2 separate regions of the Homo sapiens genome follow, and region 2 is linked to region 1. The links are contacts of gene promoters, found by promoter capture Hi-C in human tissues and cell types (Jung and others, 2019). All regions are on one chromosome and are shown on one strand. The core of a region is centred on a gene start or on the middle of the fragment in contact, and the rest is flanking DNA. Distances in the headings are between cores, read along the strand shown. Region 1 holds the start of HES6 (hes family bHLH transcription factor 6). Region 2 holds the start of RAB17 (RAB17, member RAS oncogene family).

The links. The method cuts DNA at HindIII sites, captures the fragments that hold promoters and counts their contacts. A contact is called where the count stands out against the background at its distance.
Region 2: a contact is called between the fragment with the promoter of RAB17 here and the fragment with the promoter of HES6 in region 1, in 1 of the 25 tissues and cell types used here (aorta).

The regions. Positions count from the first base shown.
Region 1 is chr2:238,238,737-238,241,425 of GRCh38, forward strand. HES6 (hes family bHLH transcription factor 6) reads right to left here and starts at 1,302. Exons shown (of 4, transcript NM_018645.6): 1 at 1,089-1,302; 2 at 925-1,011; 3 at 751-832; 4 at 1-515. The coding sequence starts at 1,169. The coding sequence ends at 91. RefSeq lists enhancers at 1-301, 2,202-2,689 and a silencer at 1,025-1,544. The HindIII fragment of the contact is 10,490 bases long and covers 1-2,689 here.
Region 2 is chr2:237,589,295-237,591,983 of GRCh38, forward strand. RAB17 (RAB17, member RAS oncogene family) reads right to left here and starts at 1,440. Exons shown (of 6, transcript NM_022449.4): 1 at 1,173-1,440. It overlaps RAB17-DT (RAB17 divergent transcript), which reads left to right and starts at 1,866. Exons shown (of 3, transcript NR_187201.1): 1 at 1,866-1,973; 2 at 2,578-2,689. The HindIII fragment of the contact is 5,809 bases long and covers 543-2,689 here.

The DNA.
Region 1 (2,689 bases), core at 52-2,551:
GCCCTACCCCACCACATCTGAACCCCTGGGAGGAGGGAGGAGATCCAGGGAGGGCCGGGCCCACCCCCGCAGGACTCTGGCTGGCATTGGTCACCAAGGCCTCCAGACACTCCGGGCAATTTGGGCTGTGGTCAGGCTGCCCAGGGCTGCGGGCACCAAGTCGGGCCCCTCAGCAGGAGCCTGACTCAGTTCAGCCTCAGGGGCCTCCTCCAGGTCGGAGCACAGGTCGTCCCCAGGACCCGGGGGGCTGGGTATTGGGGATCCCGGAGCGCCCCCCGCAGGCCAGCCACTCCGTCCAGGGGCTCTAGGTGGCCCCGCCAGGGCGTCCCCCAGCAGATCCTGGAAGCTGCTGCCCTCACGCAGCGGCATGGACTCGAGCAGATGGTTCAGGAGCTCGGCAGCGACGGTAGCGTCGATGGCCTGGCACGTGGACACGAACGTGTGCACCTCGTGCATGCACTGGATGTAGCCGGCAGCGAAGCGCTCGCTCGCTTCCGCCTGCAGCTGCTCGCGCTCTGGGCCCGAGGGTGGGAGGGAGAGAGCCGCGTCCCGCGCGGTGAGCGGCGACTGCGTGGCCCAGCCCACCCGGCCCGCGGGGACGCGGCTCACCCAGGAGACGCGGGGGCGCACCCTGCTCCGGTGGGAGCCCTCGCCGCCGACAGGACAGGGGCGCCGGGAGGGAAGTCCTCCGTCTGGCAGGGGTTACAGGCGCCCGCGGCCGGCGCCCCCGCCCGCCCCGCCGCCACTCACCGCGCGCCCGGCCCCGCAGCACACCCTGGACCCGCCGCACCGTCAGCTCCAGCACTTCGGCGTTCTCCAGCTTGGCCTGCACCTGCGCGGGCGGGAAGGGCGGTGAGCCGGCAGCGCGCTCCCGGACCCGCCCGCCCGCCCCGCAGCCCCACGGCGCCTGCCCGGCCGCCGCACCTCGGCGCCCGCCAGCAGCAGCCGCAGCTCCTGCAGGCTCTCGTTGATCCGCGCGCGCCGCTTCTTCTCCACCAGGGGCTTCCGGGCCTGCGGGGAGCGGGGCACTGAATCCCAGCCCCGCACGGCCTCCCGCCCGCTTGCTCGCCCATGGCCCCGGCCCGCACCTTGCGGTCCCCTCGCGTCTCCCAGCCGTCCTCATCCTCACGGCCCACACGGTCCCGGCCAGGCGCCGCGGGTGGCGCCATGCCCGCTCCGCCGGGGACGCGGCAGGGGCTAGGAGCAGCGGGGACGGGGAGCGGCGGGGACCGGAGTGCCGGCGCCCTCCGCTGCCCCGCGGCCGCCCAGCAGCAGCCCAGCCGTCCGCGCTCCTCGCGGCTTCCGGCCCGCCGCGGTCCCGCCCCTTTTATAGCCGCTTATTTGCATCTCAATGCGCCGATTGGCCGCGCGGGCCCGGGGCGGCCGACCGCGAGGCGCGCTGCAGCCAATCGGGGCAGCGCGCTTTGTCCGGCCCAGCGGCTCTGGCGGTCGGGCAGCTGGCTGAGCTAGGCGGGGCCCCCAGCCCGGCCTTCCCTAGACCCCCGCGGGGGCGGCACCGGGGCGGCGACCCCGGGTAGCTGCGGCCCTGCCCGCGCTTGTTTCTCTCCGTCTGCTGCTCTAGGACCACTGATCTGCCGCGCGTGCGAGCAGGCGTCCACCCGTCCGTCCGTCCGTCCGTCCACTCATTCATTCACCCATTAATTCATTCATTTCCCTCCTTCGCCGATGGCGCCTCCAGAGTTGAGCGCTGGGGCCACTGGCCCCAGGAGATGCGTCCCTGGTGTGCAGAGCCACAGTCAAGTCCGCGGTCTCTGGACCTAGAGGGGTTTCAGGTCCCGGCTGGGGTGGCTGCCAAGCCCCGGGGAGGCAGGGTCCATTGGGCAGCGGTGGCGGGGCGGCCCCTGAGTTTCTTCCGGACTCGTCCAGACGCCGGGCCGGACCCCCGACGCCGCCCTCCGCCAGCACTGGAGTCCTAGTGGGGCGGGGTCCCGGGTGCTCCCGCCCGCGCCGCTCTCCCCCTGGGCTCTGCGGGTCACCAGCCCCGCCCCCCTCTGAGCTCCCCCATCTCCCTCTAGTCCCCTTTGGCCCCCGGGGCCCCCTCCCTCCCTTCCACTGCCCCCCGCCCGCCTCCCTCCTCCCCTCCTCGTCCTCCGCGCCCCGCCTCCCAGGCCCGCCGAAGCTGCCGTCTGGTCCTGTAACTTGATGCCCGTGACAGTTGGCAGCTGCGGCCGCTTCGGCGGAGAAAAGCGAGAAAAGCGGCGGCCGCGCCAAGAGCGACAGGTGTTGGCCGCGCCTTTGTCTCGCACCCTTTGTCCGGCGGGCAGGCGGCGGGCGCTTGTCCCGGCCAGACGCCCGCGACTCCCCCATCGCGGCGGGCCGCCCATCTGCTGGGTTCCTCTTGGCCGCGGGCGGGGTGCGTGGGCGGTGGGGCCGCGCCCTCGGGCAGCGTCCTGGGGACCCCTGCCCGGCTCCTGCCCCGGCGTCAGTCCAGACGCTGTGTGGAGGAGCCGGAACGGGAGACGCCTTCTCGGACCCCAGCCGGCCGACTACCAGCCTGCCCCGCACAGCACCTGCCTTCCTCAGTCCCCACTACTCACCCGGGCTGGGATCGTCAGGGTCTGTTCTGAGCCCCTCCAGGCTATAAGCGTCCCTGGACAAGGGCACAGTCTGACCTAGGACCCCCTGTCCACCTCCCCGCACCCCCAGCAGAGCCTGGCCTCACAGAAGC
Region 2 (2,689 bases), core at 190-2,689, 650 kb before region 1:
GTAATACAACCACAAATGGTATTTTTGCCTACTTCTAGTTTTTTTCTATGACTCCTAAAAACAAACCAAAACCCATAGTTTTAACATAAAATTATTATCCGATGGGTAAGAAATACTTAATACCAAAGGCAGTCTCACACATTGCTTCAAAATCATGTTTAATGGACATATAACATTTCTACAACTATCTCAACTTGCTGAACCATTTTCCTAATACTGGATTTTTACTTAGTTTTAATTTTTTCTCTGTAATAAGACTGCAGTAAACATTTTCTTATATAACTTTTTGTGTGATTGAGTGTTGTAAGCTTTCAATAATGAGAGGTTGGAGCCTTCTGTCCAAAGAGAAAATTAAAAGTGTGGCACCTGACCCCCACCTCCAGAATTTAATCAAGATGGGGTTATTAGTAGTGAAAGATGTTATTAGGTTGTTGAAGACAAAGATGTTTTCAGGAACACCATATTCAAGACTGGCGCTTCTCTAGTAATCTTAACTTGGGGCTTTTTAATCTCTTGCACCTCCCTTCCACTAAAGGGAAAAAAAACGGAGAGCAAATCCCACATTAGTCTTTTTTGCGGGGAAGGGGCCATTCCAGGGAAGGGTCTGATTGATGAGTCTATCGGCAACTGTGATCCTGTGTCACCCTTGCCTGGGGCCTGTGAAGAATATTGAGATTACGAGAGGTACACCTGTACATTGCATTCAGAATACAGCCATCTGATACAGAAAACACAATGTAGATTGTAAAAAGGAGTTTACAAGAAAACCTGACAAGCTTCCTAGATATCACTGGGTATTAAATTGGGAATGTTGATGTCATTTGAAATGGATTTCTTTAAGAGTTCTTCTCATTACCAGAAGTTTTTTGTGTTTTTTTTTTTCAAGACCTTAAAACCGGAACTTTCCCGAAGAAAAATGCAAATAAGAATCTCCTTCTGGGAATCCGACTTAGTGAGCCATCAGAAATCTGAACTAGGAAGTCTCCGCCCCAGCTTTGTCCTTTGATTATACACACATGGGCACATGCACAGACACAAACAAATACAGACATGGGTACAAACACGTGAGCACACACACAGACACACAGAGACTCACACACAGAGAAGCAGAGACACACACACACACAGGCAGACACTCCACAAAGGGCACAGAGGTTTAAACAATGACTCACCTGTTCCCCAGGCCCGGTCACTTGCAGGGAGCTGAAGAGCCTGTCATCACCAGTCCACAGCGTTGCTACCTGTCTCCGCTTTCTCCTCTCTCTGGTCCAGGGGAAGGTTTGCTTCCCTCCACAGGCAGGACAGGACAGGAGGAGCCTCTACTCCAATGGAAAACAGCCGCAGAGCAGAGGTCAAGAGCAGCAGCCTCGGACCAGAGCAATGCCCACTGGACCCCAGCGCCAAGGTCAGGCCTCTTCTCCTCCCAGAAGGTTTCAGGGCAAAGTCCACAGTGGTCATGTGGTCACCTGAGGCAGGGCAGGAGGCTGGACCTCAAAGCAGGTGACCCGGGAGCACCTGCGCGCTGCCGGAAGTCAAGTCACATTCCAGTCCTGCATTTCCTGGCACCCAACTGGAGCCCGTTTTTCAGCTTTATTCCGGGGTTTCACTTCCAGGATCTCACTTTGGCACAGAATGTTTTTCTTGGCTCCTTCCTTGGAGCTGTATGGAATCTTTGTTGCACTTGAAAAACCAACAGCCCAGAAGAGAAAAGAATATTCCGGTCAGATGAATTAATTCCTCCCACTGTCAGCTAGAAGCCATCCCTGGCTGAGCCCTGCACTGGCCAGAGGCAACTGAGTGTGAGCCAGTCCAGGGTCAGATCCTGGGCTGATGCCACCTGAGGGCGGGGTGGGGGCGTGGCCTCCGTGCACATGGGAGACTCCAGGTGCAGGAGAGGGGGAGGTGGACTTCCTCTTGGTCTTCCCAAGCCATGAAACTTCCTGGCTTGGTGGTAACAGAAGAGTCTCCTCCAGGTAAGATTTCCAGAGCCTCTGAGTATGGCTGGGGTAGCAGGGTTGGGCCTGAGGCTGAGGAGATGGAAATCTGTTGCCGTGAACATTACTCCACACAGCCAGTATACGGGAAGCCAGCTCACTTTATGTCCTCCAAACTCACCCTAACTTCTCGTTTGGGTCTCATCCCGCGGGGCTGCTGGGAAATAAGCTCCGCCACCACAGTGGTTCCTCCGCCCTGTGGGAGTGGGGGGCTCTTATGCTGGAGGGGGGACACTGGCCTGGACTTCTGCTGAGGCTCTGCCCCTCATCCCTGCAGGACGGACTAGCCAGTCCTAACACAGGACTAGCGTTGCTCTACCACGTCCAAGCCTCCTCTGAGATTCTTCCTCCATGCAACCACTTCCCCTGGGGCGTGGCCACCTCCCTGGAAGCCGCCAGCATGCTCGGCTGGGCCCCCGCACTCTGGAGGCTTGAGAATCTCTCTATTTTTGAATGACGTCCTTATCCTCTGCCCCCAGGCTGGTAACCAAAGGTCTGGGGGTGGTGACGTGCTGGGAATGGTGTAACTCGTGAGATGGAGGCTGAATGTGGAAATACATGAATGTGCTTCTCTTCTCTCCAGTTCCCTTGAAGAATCCACCTTCCTGCAGGGTTGGGGGAGCGCAGAATGGGAGGAAGATACAAATACCAATTTTATAGCAAGAATGCAAAAAGAGGCCAGCGCGGTGGCTCGA